Linked DNA regions of Homo sapiens: region 2 is linked to region 1. Evidence: promoter capture Hi-C in 16 types of primary human blood cells and fetal thymus (Javierre and others, 2016). All regions are on one chromosome and are shown on one strand. Each heading gives the region's core, a stretch centred on a gene start or on the middle of the fragment in contact. The rest is flanking DNA. Distances are from core to core; before and after follow the strand shown.

The links. The method cuts DNA at HindIII sites, captures the fragments that hold promoters and counts their contacts. A CHiCAGO score of 5 or more calls a contact.
Region 2: a fragment that was not itself captured here is called in contact with the fragment with the promoter of ZNF397 in region 1 in 3 of 17 cell types (naive CD8 T cells, activated CD4 T cells and total CD4 T cells); the score reaches 6.8 in naive CD8 T cells.

What each region holds. Positions count from the first base shown.
Region 1 is chr18:35,237,863-35,244,532 of GRCh38, reverse strand. ZNF397 (zinc finger protein 397) reads right to left here and starts at 3,499. Exons shown (of 4, transcript NM_001135178.3): 1 at 3,424-3,499; 2 at 1,649-2,142; 3 at 1,240-1,381. The coding sequence starts at 2,062. RefSeq lists a silencer at 3,318-3,447 and enhancers at 3,237-3,762, 3,708-3,817. The HindIII fragment of the contact is 1,449 bases long and covers 2,917-4,365 here.
Region 2 is chr18:36,834,936-36,842,340 of GRCh38, reverse strand. KIAA1328 reads right to left here. Exons shown (of 10, transcript NM_020776.3): 3 at 6,965-7,107. Among named protein-coding and RNA genes, the nearest start is that of KIAA1328, 9.5 kb to the right of the region's middle. The HindIII fragment of the contact is 5,322 bases long and covers 2,636-7,405 here.

The DNA of each region.
Region 1 (6,670 bases), core at 2,250-4,749:
TGGGCTCTCATGTATCCTTACTCTACAAACTCTCTACCCTTGGCTTCCATTACATCTTACATTGTAAGCTATTGTCTGACTAATGTCTGCCCAGATCCCCAATTATATCCATATTTTATTAAGCTCTAGAGTCTTATGCTAATTGGGCATTTTACTTTTGAATATTTCACAAGCACCAAATGTACCAACCTAAACACATCATCAGATGTATCTGTTTTTCCTTATGTTTTCTCATTCACATGAACAGTACTACCATTAACCAGACTGTTGAAGACTGAAACCTCAGTATCATCCTCAACTCCTCTCCCTCACACTCTAGTTTTAATAATTACCAGATGTTGCAAAACAACTTAAATGCTGTTGAACAGGAGTCAGCTTTTATGTTCTCCACCGCTTACCATAACACATATTGATTGAATACACTGTGGCCACTTGGATTACAGCAGTCTTTAATAGGACTATACTCTTGCCTTCCTTACATGATTCTCCATTTGCAGCTAACTTCTAAACTGCAAATCAAACTATGTCACTCCTTGTCCAAAATCCTTCAACTGCATCCCACTGCACTTAAGAAACTATACAAACAAATTAACATGACATACAGGTCTTCATGACTTGGATCCTATTTTCCTCTCTGGTTCTTCTCTTACCACCTGTCAATTCTCCATTCAAGTCAAATTAAACTACCTGCAATTTTCAGAATGGGTTATATTCTCACACCTTCGGGATGGTATGGCCTTTACTTGGGCTACTCCTCCTCCCACCTATTTACCTGGCTTTCTCTTACTCATAGTTCAAGTCTTAGCTTAGATTTTCTTCCTTCAGGAAGTGTTCCTTGATCCTCTAAGATTGGGTTAGGTGCCTTTAGATGTGCTCCAACAGTACCCACTGCCTACTTATATTCTATAATTTACTACATTGCAACTGCCTTTTTATTTGTCCATCACCCACCTAGACCTGAAACCTCTCCTGGGGCCTACCACAGTACCAGACATGTATTGACGCTTTATAAAGTTACAACATAATGAAATGAATGAATGAATAACAGGGAAACTCACACAGGAGGGCTGACAGCAATTCATGAGGGGTGAATACAAAGCCGCTAAAGCGAGCACCTCTGGTTTAGAATAATAAAGGTGATGCTCACATGTGGCAAGTTTGTCAAGTGCAATTAATTCTGCATTCTCAAAAACAGAGGCCTAAGTGTCAAGAGTTTCCAGATGATTTCCCATTCCTCACCACTTTTAGGGGAAAGGCATGGTTTCCAGGATTTCAGCTGTGTCTTTAAGGGCTGGAGGTGGATGTCTGTTGACTCTTGGGATGCTCTGAGACATGTTAAATCCTTCCATGGCACTGCTGGTCCCTGTGGACTAGCTGGGACCTGAAATCAGTAAAATATGGTTAGCTTTGTGAGAAAATCCCTAAGAAAACTTGCTTAGTAAAAATCTCAAAGAGGTCAATGATGACATCTCCAGGGATGAAGGACAGGGGAAAAAGACCATTCAAGGGTATAGACAAGTATGGCTCTATTAGTCACTTCAGGTTAGGGTTCAGTAGAGACATAAAAATTTTTATCCTACTGTTATGATACCATTACATGCTCCAGGCTGTAAATTCCTTTTCCCACATCACTTTTCTCCGTTCCCACCTGCTGCCCTGGGTCATCAAACTCCCTCTCTAAATCCTCCAACAGGGTCACAGCTTCCTCGCCGCTTTCTGGATTATGTTGCTGAACCCAGATCTGCAGCTCCTCAGGCAGAATGCTCAGGAACTGCTCCAGTACCAGCAGTTCTAAGATCTGCTCCTTTGTGTGCAACTCTGGCATTAGCCACTGATAGCAAAGTTCCTGGAGTCGGCTCAGAGCCTCCCGGGGCCCAGGTGTCTCCTGGTAGCAAAATTTTCTGAATTGCTGACGAAACAATTCTTGGCAGGATTGAGTACTCCCATTCTGCTTAAATTTCTCATCCCAGGAAAAGTTATCTTCTACTTTCACTAGTATTAGTTCTTGTTCCGGAGGATCCTGAGGTATCAGGGTTGAAATCACTCCAGATTCCACAGCCATTCTTGGCTGAAACAGCTTAGCAAAAAGCTCAGTACAACTGGTTCTGTGCTTGCGAAGGAGTGTGAGTAATCTCTTCTTTCCTGAAGGATATAAAAGCAGTTAACTTACAGCAATCAATAAAATCTCTAAGTACTTGTAATAAGAAAGATGAGTAACTTTAGTAATATATTGAAAGGGAGTAGATTTGGGGCTATCACTAAATAAAACAATAATGTGATGATAAACTAAAAATCATTAACCTCAATTAGTGTCTCCCATTATGAAGAATTCCTACCACTAATGTTAGAAAAAACTATTTTAGAAGCCTAAGAATGTGAATGCAACATTAACATCAATCACATAGTGAGAAAATTTCCTTTCCAATTCTTTCAATTCTGATTGTATCAAGGAGAAAAGTCTATCTTTAACATGTATGTATTAATAAAACTTGTAGAACTCTCTTTTAAATAAAATACAGGCTTCAGAATCAGACTTCCAAGAGTAAAAATATTTAGGCAGAATTTAGTAATACTGATTTTAAACATTTATTTTTACTTACTTTCTATCTAAAGCAAGTAATGTTGATTTTCATTTAAGGCAGTAATAACGTTTTTTTAAAAGTTCACATTAAACATGAGTTGATGTAAATATTGGATATTTGTCATTTGATCGCATTTGGTGTTTACCGAATTACTTCAACAAACACTGAGGCACTTACTGAGCATTAAGATTTTTGCTTATGAATAAACGAGTCTACAGAGGAATTGACCAAGAACCAAGACGTATCTGTAAAATGCTTACCATGTGTTCAAAAACATGATAGGTATCACATACACAAAAGCAGCAAAGAGATCCGTATCAGTTCTGAAAAAGCTTAGAATATCCCAAGACTAAAAATGTTCAAAAGCAAAATATGGTAACAAATAGGTATTAAATGTTGTGACACAGACCAAACTTGACCTGCTTTTAGGATGGCGAGATATCGATAGGAATGTATGCCCTTAGTTTGTCAGGACAGATGAGTAAAATTCATTCCTCACACTACGGTTAACGTTAAGAGATGAATTAAAATATTTAGCCTACAAATTTAAGGTTTAACCAGTCCGGCCGCACTAACTAACTAACTAACTAGCCCTTCTATTTTTATATCCTTGGTTAAACCGCAGCATTTACGAAGTCACGGGGTCAGCGGAACTGCGTTTTCCTTTGGAAAGCAGGAGTTTGAGTGCTGGCCTCCTCTGAGTTCCCCAGTCGCTTGGAGACGCCGCGCGGGCCAAAGGGCCGCGACCTGGGGATGGGCAGGCCGAGGAGCGGAGCTCCTCCACTGTCCGGCGCGCGCTCCCAACCCCACCTCCCTCTTCCTAGGGGCCCACGTCCCTCACCGCGAAGCCCAGGAGCGGCCAGGAAATGAGCCACCCACCCCGAGCTGCAAGCCACAAAGACCGGAAGTGCGCGTACGCAGTGTTCCGCTCTCGCGCCCTTCGGGTCCTCCGCCGCCCCGCCCCTTGCTCTGAGGTAGCCAATCAGAGCCGCGGGCTCTACAGTTTCCACCGCCTTCTCCCGGTAGCCGCTAGCCCGGCGGAATCTCCAAGGCCAGGGGAGGGTGCGCTAGGAGTCAGGGGTCCTTGTGAGCGGCGGCACCTGGAGGGTCCCGCATCTCGCCTGGGCCGTTCCCACCCTGGCTTTCTCCTGGCACCACCCATCATTGTTGGTCTCAAGTAATTCCCGAATCTCACTCCCAGTTTTCCATTAAAATATTCAGATTTTCGGCCGGGCGCGGTGGCCGAGGCGGGCGGATCACGAGGTCAGGAGATAGAGACCATCCTGGCTAACACGGTGAAACCCCGTCTCTACTAAAAATACAAAAATTTAGCTGGGCATGTTGGCGGGCGCCTGTAGTTCCAGCTACTCGGGAGGCTGAGGCAGGAGAATGGCGTGAACCCGGGAGGCGGAGCTTGCAGTGAACTGAGATGTGCTGCACTCCAGCCTGGGCGACAGAGCGAGACTCTGTCTCAAAAAAAAAAAAAAAAAAAAAACCTCAGATTTTCCTGTGATTCCAGTTCTTTTCCGACAAAAGTAAATGTAAGGATGAATAGGCTGAACAAAAACTAACAGTCACTTATATTGCTTTTGCCTATGAGTATCACTGGAGCCTTACAACAGTTCTGTGCTGTGGCTATATAATCCCAAATTTACAGCCGTAGACATCGCCCAAAGTCAGGCAACTTGTGACCAGGGACGTCCACGTCCCCATAGTTCAAGGAGACTGGTATCGTAGACTCCTGGAGCCTATCTTAGGGTCTTCCCGTTCTTCAGTGGAAGCTTGCTGGTATTGTCTCACTGTTTAAATTTTTCTTTGGCTATTTAGTCGGTGAAAAATGATGCCTCATGTTTCAACTTTGTGAGCTTAAGATAGTCCCCCTTCATGTTTACTGACCATTTATGGTTCTTCAGAGATGGCTTTTCCCATTTAAAAAATTAAGGGAGTAAGATTTTTCTTTTTTATTTGTGAGAATTTTTTGCTTATTAAGGATAGCAACTCGTTTGTTGCAAATCGTTTCCCATTTATTTGTATTTATTTTTAAAACGTTACATTTTACATGTTTAAATGTTACATATTTTTAAAATGTTATATTAAAAAAGTACACAGGATAATAACAAAGCGATACATACATACATAGAAACAAATTCTCCTTTGTGAGCCAAGACTTAAAACACATATTTGAGAAAAATGTTCGTTAGCATTCAAAGCTATTAGTGACTCACTAAATAATTTTATCATTGTGAAATGACTACAGCAATTTTACAAAGCAAAAAACCAAATAATATTAATTTGTTTATAAATTATCAATTGCTTCATAATGAACCACTTCAAGACTTAGTGACTAAAAACAGCAGATGTTTTATTGCTCACAGTTCTGTTGCCAGGAATTCAGGAAGGGCTTAGCGGAGATGGCTAGTCTGCTTTATGATGTGTCAGCTATCTTCACTTAACTGGGGTGGAAGGTCCAAGATGGCTTCACTCAAATTGCTGAAGTCTTGGTGTTGCCTCTTGGTTGAAGTTACTTGATTCTTCTCCACAAGGCCTCTCTCCATTCAGGAGTTTAGCCTAAGCTTTCTTACATGGTGACTGGCTTCCAAGAGAGTTAAGGAGGAGGAAAGATGCTAATTCTCTTAAAGCCTGAGTCTGGAACTGGCATTATATTTTTCTGCAGTATTCCATGACAGAAGGACTAGAATGGTGGAAAAGGGAAATAGACATTAAGCAGCTTGATCATAGGAGGAAATTTTGGCAGTTATCTTTGCATCCAACCTAACACACCTTGTTATATTGAGAAACCTACTATGTAAGAGTGAAACTATTGAAAGAGAGAAGGCATATCAGTTGAAATGCTTTTGGCTGCAGTAACAGGAACCTTACTAAATGTCCTTATTGTTCAAGCCTTTTAAAAACAAATCCTAATAGCTAGATGCATGGAGATAAAATCATTCCCAGGGTTGGTTACTTCTGCATCTGGACAATATTGTCAAGGACACAGGTTTCTTCCTTCTTTTGGCTCTGCCATCTTTAAGTGTGTTGTTCTCCAGTCTGGCTTCCTTTATGGTCCTAAAATGATTTCCTCAGTTCCAGATTACAGATAATGTTCAGAGACCAAAAAGGGGAACACCTTTATCTTTTGCCCCTTTATACGATTAAGGAAACTCTTTTTCCCTGATAGATTTCTCCATCATGTCTTATTAACTGAAATTGCTTTGAGTGCTTATGTCTATCACTAACAAGGGAGGTAAGGCCTCCATGGTGGGATTAGGACAATTGAAATTTATATCCCAGGGCTAAGGAGAAGGCCAGCCTCTCCTAAAGGACACAGACACTCTGGGGAGAATGCATGAAATTAGGGCTGTGTTAAAAAGGCAGAAAAGGGAGATAAATAGATGAATGTTGAATTTGCAACAGTAATATCTGCTTTGATAGGTAATCTGATTCCCTTGTATAGGTAAGAAAGTGAGACACTGAGAAAAAATCCAGACTCCTGTCCTTCCTTATAAGATGTTACCTATGTTTAAAATATAAAATATTAGTAATTACTTACTTGCAAGAGATGTAGATTAGAGATCTAGAGCCAGTTTCTGGGACATAGTTTAAGTTCCCACTGAGAGAGCAACTGATTACCCCATAGGACTGTAGGGCCTTAGGGCCTCCTTAGAGCCCCTTAAGGACCTTAGCCAACAATTTCCATGACTTATTTAACTTTCAGTGCTATCGGTTATATCAATGCCCTTGAAATCATTCCCTCTATCTTCCCCCATCCCCAGTTTCACATATATCCAGTCTGCTTTAATGTGAAAATATTTGCAAAATTATTGAATCAAGGGTAGAGAAGTATAATTTTTTTCTCCTCCTTCAGATGTTCTTGATTTTTGTTTCTGTTTTTTTAATGATATGTATGACAGGTGTGAAATAATGTCAGCTCCAGGCATTACCAGTGATTAGTGAGTAAGGTTGCTCATTCAGTGAAGTCCAACTGCTTGAATTACTGTATCATACAACATTGGTCTACTTTATGATATTTATCAAGTGAGATAAGCCCATTGAAAGTCTCTTAACTATAAACAACCATTCAATAATAA
Region 2 (7,405 bases), core at 4,047-6,546, 1.6 Mb before region 1:
CAAGTACTGCTGATTCCAGTTTGCAATTTTTTCCAGCCCTTACAGAACCAGCCTTTATCAGGCCTCCTCAGAAATGGCAGTACCAGCCGGGTTGGTGTCCCATCACCAGAGGTCCAAGTTGCAGCTTTAAGGGGCCCCTCCTCTAAGCTTCTAAGTTTCAATAATTCCGACTTATTCTGCCCTCTCATCCAGTTCTAGAGATTGTGGTTGTTTCTTATAGTTACTACTTTCATGATACTTTAATGTTCCCTTTTTGCCTTTTTGGTTCTCGCACTATTCAATAATTTTTCTTTTAAATATTCTAAGTTAAAATAACTGACTAAACCCCGAGACGGTGAAAAGAAATGAAATATAACTACATACAACATAAAGAAATCTCACGTAACATTGGAAGAGCCATAGAGGGAAAAAAAAACAAGAAATCTCATAAACATAATATGAAATAAAAAGCAAATCACACAATACAAATGGATATGAGCTCATTTATATAAAGTTCCAAATATATATGAAATACTGTTTCAAAAAAAATGTATTTACACTGTAGGACAGGGCTTGGTAAACCATGGCTGCAAGCCGAATCTGGCCCACTGGCTGTTTTTGTAAACAAAGGTTTATTAAAACGTGCTCATTCATTTGCATATTGCTTATGGCTCTTTTAATGCTACTGTGGCAGAGTTGAGTTGTTGAGACAGATGTTACAGCCTGCAAAAGTTAAAGTATTTACTACCTGTCCAATTTATAGAAAAAGTCGGCGAACCCCGATATGGAAAAACAAAAGAATTATAAAGTTCAGGATACGAATTACCAAAGAAGAAAACATGATGAGGAAAGGCCACATATCTACAGTCACTTGACTTACAACAATGGTATCATTGCAATTCAAAGAAGAAAAGAATCCTCTTCCCAGTAGATGGTGTTGGGCCAATACTGACAGTCTATTGACCCAATACTGGCAGTCTATGGGCCCAACACCATCTATTGGGAAGAGGATTCTTTTCTCTCTGAATTGCAGTGAATCTTACTTTACACTACATGTGCATATTACTTCCTGATGAATAGTAGGCTTAACTGTAAAAAATAAAGCAATATGGCCACAAAAGAGAGAGGGAACTTGCTGCAGAGTATAATCAGCTAACAGCCTCCAGTTGCCAAACCTTTGGGATCCACTGCACTGTTCATACCAACACCAATGACTGGGAACAGTAGAGACACTAGAACTGAGCTATTTCTGATCCAAATGGCATCCTCAAAAGGCAGTATTTGCTCTGGGGTTCCTCACTAGCAAAAAGGACACTTATCTCAGATTGCATGGCAATCTGAAGTCTGAGGTTCTTCCTAGTCAATCTTCCTTCTTTTCCTCTCCTGTCACAGGTGCCAGACTGTAGTGAAATCTGAAGATTCCTGCTCATTCTACTCTTTATGCTTTATAAGCTTTTCCTTCATTAAATCTCTTCCATTTCTAATTCCATCTCGCGGTCTGCTTCCCAGAAGACTTGAACTGACCTAATTACCACTGTGAAATCCTTAATGAATTAAGGATACTCAACATCAATACCAACAAAGACTACACAGAGAAAAAAATCACAAGATGGCTGGGCACAGTGGCTCATGCCTATAATCCCAGCACTTTCGGAGGCCGAGGTGGGTGGATCACGAGGTCAGGAGTTCAAGACCAGCCTGGTCAACATAGTGAAACCCCATCTCTGTTTATACAAAAATCATCTGGGCATGGTAGTGCGTTCCTGTAATCCCAGCTAGTTGAGAGGCTGAGGCATGAGAATTTCTTGAACCAGAACCCAGGAGGCAGAGGTTGCAGTGAGCCGAGACCATGCCACTGTACCTGGGCTACAGAGCCAGACTCTGTCAAAAAAAAAAAAAAAAATCACAAGACATGCTCTTCAATGGAAAAAAGGAAAAGAAAAAGCAAACCACCATTTCTAGTTTTAAGAAAAAGCACACATAGACACATATACCCCCGACAATGTAGGACATCCTCTTCTAGCCCAGATGGAGTAACAGGGACCAGATTTACCCTAGTTTCAGAAAACAAAACAAAACAAAAACCTGACAAAAAAACAGGAAACAATAGTTTTCATTGGATAGCAGGCAACACAGAATGATCACTGGAATTGCAGAAACAAACAAGGCGAGCCCTACAACTGTCCCAGCTAACTGCTGTGGAGAGTTTTCAGGGCTAAGGTAGGTAAATCCAGACAGAGCCCAGCAATCTCCCTGAGTTGAAAAGATACAGCTGGGAGTCCAGGAAAGCCAAGGTTTCTAGTGTTTGCAGAAACACTAGAAACCTTGCAGGGCAAAGTAATGCCAAGGATAGAGCTGCATAGGAGAGCTCCAGGGATCTGCAGAATCCCTTCGCGTCAACTACTGAGCACTGACCAGCATATGTATGTGAGAAAACTACTCATCCCGGGGAAAGAGCCCAAAATGAACAGTGGAAACAATTTCTGTAGCTAATACAGCATAGGAGAACAGTCTGTTCCCACCAGCCAGAGGGGAAAACCTTGTAATTTAAGGGGCATCAGGAAGAGTATTCAAAAGAGTATGGCCTACAATGGGCAAAATTACCCCTATACTAAAAGCTGCTCTGGCACCACCTTTAAAAGCTCAAAATGAAGCTTGGAAAGAATCAAATTGCTTCCAAATAATTTATCACTGTCTCAGAACCCAAAAAGGCAAAATGCATACTGTCTTGTGACATCCAATAAAAGACAACCAAGCAGGCAAAGAAGCAGAAAAATACAGCCTATAATTAGGAGAAAAATTGCTCAATTGAAACCTATCCACAAATGACTTGGATGATAGAATTCATAGTCAAGAATATTGAAACAGTTATTATAACTATGTTCCATATGTTCAAGAACCTAGAAGAAAGCATGTCAAGTAGCGACATGGAAGATGTAAACAAAAATAAGAGACTGAAACTGAACTTCTAAAGATAAAACTACATTGTTTCATATGAAAAACACACTGGATGAGATTAGTGGCAGATTAGACATTGCAGAAGGTTAATGAATTTGAAGACATAGCAACAGCAATACAAACTATCCAAGGATAAACAAAAAAATTTTTTAATGAAAAAAATATGAACAGAGGATCAGAGAGCTGAGAGGGTAACTTCAAGAGGCCTAGTATTTGTGCAACTAAGGTCACTAGAAAGAGAGGGAAACAAAAATATCTGGAGAAACAATGGCTGAAACATTTCCCAATTTGATGAAAACTATAAACCCACAGTCCCAAAAAGCTCAACAAACCTCAAACAAAAGAGATACTTTAAAAATTACTCCAAGGTAGGATGGGCATGGTGGCTCACACCTGTAATCCCAGCACTTTGGGAGGCCGAGGCGGGCAGATAATGAGGTCAGGAGTTCGAGACCAGCCTGACCAACATGGTGAAACCCCATCTCTACTAAAAATACAAAAATTAGCCGGGTGTGGCGGTGCACGCCCGTAATCCCAGCTACTCAGGAGGCTGAGGTAGGAGAATCACTTGAACCTGGGAAGCGGAGGTTGCAGTAAACCAAGATCGTGCCACTGCACTCTAGCCTGGGCGACACAGCAACTCTGCACCTCAAAAAAAAAAATTACTCCAGGGTATACTATAACCAAATTGCTCAAAACCAGTGATAAGAAGAAAATCTTAAAAGCAGCCATATTTAAACACATACACACAGAAAAATAAGGAGGAATAAAAATGACAGCCAACTTCTTAAAAACAATACAAGCCAGGCAACAGTGCAGCAACATCTTTAAAGCACTGAATGAATAAAACTATCAACTCAGAATTTTATAACCAGCAAAAATATCTTTTGAAAAGGAAAGAGAAATAAAGACTTTTCAGACATACGTGAGCTGAAAAAATTCTTTCCTAGCATACCTGAACTAATGTTAAAGGAAGTCTTTTAGGAAATCTGGATACACGTGAAAGAATGAAAACACCAGAAATGGTAACTACATGAGTAGATTTAAAAGACTTCTGTTGCATTTGTAAAATTTCTTTAAAAGGCAATTAAAATAAAATGCATCCAAAATGGAATAAAGGCATCCAATAAGAATATGTGAACTATCTCTATTCACAGACAACTTCATCTTATATAGAGAAAATGGTAAGGAATTCACAAAAGAACTATTAGATTAGAAATAGTTTGATAAAGTTGCAGGATACAAGATCAATTCACAAATCAACTGAATTTCTATATACTAGCAATAAACAATCCAACAGTGAAATTCAGAAACAACTGTGTTTCTAATAACATCAAAAAGTATAAAACATTTGCTGATTCTATAATGCCTATGGAAACACTGGGACCCAAAATAGCCAAAACAATCTTGAAAAAGAAGAAGTTGGAGGACTTATACTTCCTAATTCCAAAAATAAAAATATAAATCAATGGAACAGAATACAGAGAGTCCAAAAATAAACCCTTACACTTATGGTCAACAGATATTTGACAAGGGTGCCAAGAAATTCAAAGGGGAAAGGACAGTTTTTTTAACAAATGGTGCTGGGACAACTGGATATCTACATGCAAAGGAATAAAGTTAAACTACCACCTCACCCCATATACAAAAATTAACTCAAAATGGAATGAGAACTAAATGTAGGAGTAAAACCTTTAAAATTCTTAGAAAAAAAATAGGCACAAATATTTGTGACCTTGGATTAGGCAACAATTTCTCAGATATGACACCAAAGCAAAGGAGACAGAAGAAAACACTAGATAAACTGAACTTCATCAAAATTTTAAACTTCTGTGCTTCAAAGAACACCAATAAAAAAGTGAAAAGGCAATGCATAGAATGAGAAAAAATATTAGCAAATAATGTATCTGATAAGGGACTTGTAAATGGAATTTAGAAAGAACTCATAACTTAACAGTACTAAGACAAATAACTCAGTTAAAAAAGGATATGACTAGATATTTGTCTGACGAAGATACACAAATAGCCAAGAAGCACATAAAAACATGCTCATCATCATTTAGTCATTAAGGAAATGCAAATCAAAATCACATTGAATTACCACTTCACACCCACTAGGGTGGCCATCCTCAAAAAAGATGGACATAAATGTTGGCAAGAATGTGGAGAAATCTGAATCCTCATACATTGCTAGTCGAATGTAACATGGTGTAACCACTTTAAAAAACAGTTTGGAATTTTGTCAAAAGGTTAAACATAAAACTACACGACACAGCAATTCACTTATAGGTATATACACAAGAGAACTGAAAATATATGTCTACACAAAAACTTGTATATGAATGATCATGGAAGAATTATTCATAATAGCTAGAAAGTTGAACATGTCCATTGACTGATAAATGGATAAACAAAATGTATATTCAGACATAAAAAGGAATGAAGTAATGATACAGAATAGATGAACCTTGAAATCATTATGCTAAATCAAAGAAGCCAGTCACAAAAGGCCACATATTATGTGATTTCCTTTTATATGCAACATCAATAACAAGCAAATCTATAGAGACTGAAAGCAGATTAGTGTTTGCTAGGGGCTGAGATGACTGGGGAATGAGAAGTGCCTAATTGGTATGGGGTTTCTTTCTAGAGTGATAAAAATGTTTCGAAACTAGATTGTGGTGATGGATCCACAACTCTGTGAATATAAACACATACAAAATCAAAATAATAAACTGTACACTTTAAAAAGGTGAATTTTATATGCAAATTATATCTCAATTTGAAAAAAAAGAGAGTTGACTAAAGCAAATGTAATATGTATTTTGGGGTCTGTGCACATAAGTAAAATGTATGACAACAATATCAAAAAAGTCAGGAGGTGAGAAATAAAGTACAGTGTTGAAAGGTCCTTAAACTATAGGTAATGTGGGAAAATATCACTTGATAATAGGCTATGATAAATGAAAGATGTATACTATAATCTCTAAAGAAGCCACTGAAATAATCCAATCAAAAGTTATAGCCAATAGGACAAAAATATGAACTTAATCTAAAAGAAGGCTATTGTTCAATGTAAAACAAATCAACCATTATGTGAAAAAACATTTTTTAACTTTTTTTGATAAGAACTTGCAAATTCAACTATTCACACCCCAGTGTGAAGTGGGTACACTGGTACAAGTAACGTAAAGTAGGCCTTTTGATTCAATCACAGTAAAATCCTGTAGTAATAAATGAGGCACTGGAAATATCTTTGAGAACATAATTCACAGACTGAAAAAAGTTTTCTATAAAAGGTCTGATAGTAAATGTTTTTAGCTTGTGGGCATGCAGTCTCTGTAGCAACCCTGCTATTGTAACACAAAAGCAACCATAGACAATTATGTAAAACAATGAGCACAGCTGTATTCCAAAAAACCTTTATTTATAAAACAGGCAGAAGGATTTGGTCCACAGGTTATAGATTCCAGAACATTCATATACAAGTTTTGTGTAGACATCCTAGTGAGTGTGAAGTGGTATTGAACAACTCTGGTTGCAGAGGGAAAATATAACAAAAATTAAAGTAAAATAAACTGGTCAGATAGGACATGTGCCAAAGGAATGCACCGATACTATTACTATGCCTAGTCATTGATTTGTCCCTCATCTTTACGAGGGTTCATCTATCAAATAAATTCACAAGAATAAAAATCAAAAAGGATGCCTAATTAAAAAGCAATTCTCATCAGTTTGATTTACCAATGCCACACAGATCAGAATGTAGTTCTTTTGAGACATATCAAGATAATACATTATCATGGCTAATGCTTACAGCAAGTCAGATGTTTTGGAGCAAAACCCTTGAGTAATCCAGATAATTTAGGCTCAAACCTGGCATCATCAAAGGATCCTGGAATCCTCTGTATCTTTTAAGAATGTTTGTTGATCACCTAGTATACTTTCAAAGGTTCTTCTACCCTTTTTGGTCAGCACTCATAAAGACTGGAGAGCAAGGAAAAAAAAAGACGAAAAAAATACTAACCTGTTCATCTACTGAATCTCCTGTGCCTTTTAAGGACTCCATGGAGATTGAAGCATCAGTCACCCTGGAAGTCTTAAGTTTAACATCAGCTTTTGGACTCATCAGCTTGTGTCTTGATCTGACATTTCCTTCAGCAGAAATTCCTAAGGATTTCCATTAAACAAGATTTCAAAATTATACCTTATTATCTTAAACCCTCCCCCATCAACTCCTTCCTTGGAATCCTCTACTTTAAGGGACCTGATGGAGGAAACTCTCTTACTTTATAAACTTAATTTTAAAGCTCTTAATATATGAATCATAAAAAGAATATGTTTTAAAGAAATACACTAAAGATTGAATTGAAATTTGTTTTTATATTTATTTTTTTAAAGAGACAGGGTCTTCCTATGTCTATCCAGGCTGGACTTGAACTCCTGGGCTCAAGCAATCCTCCCACCT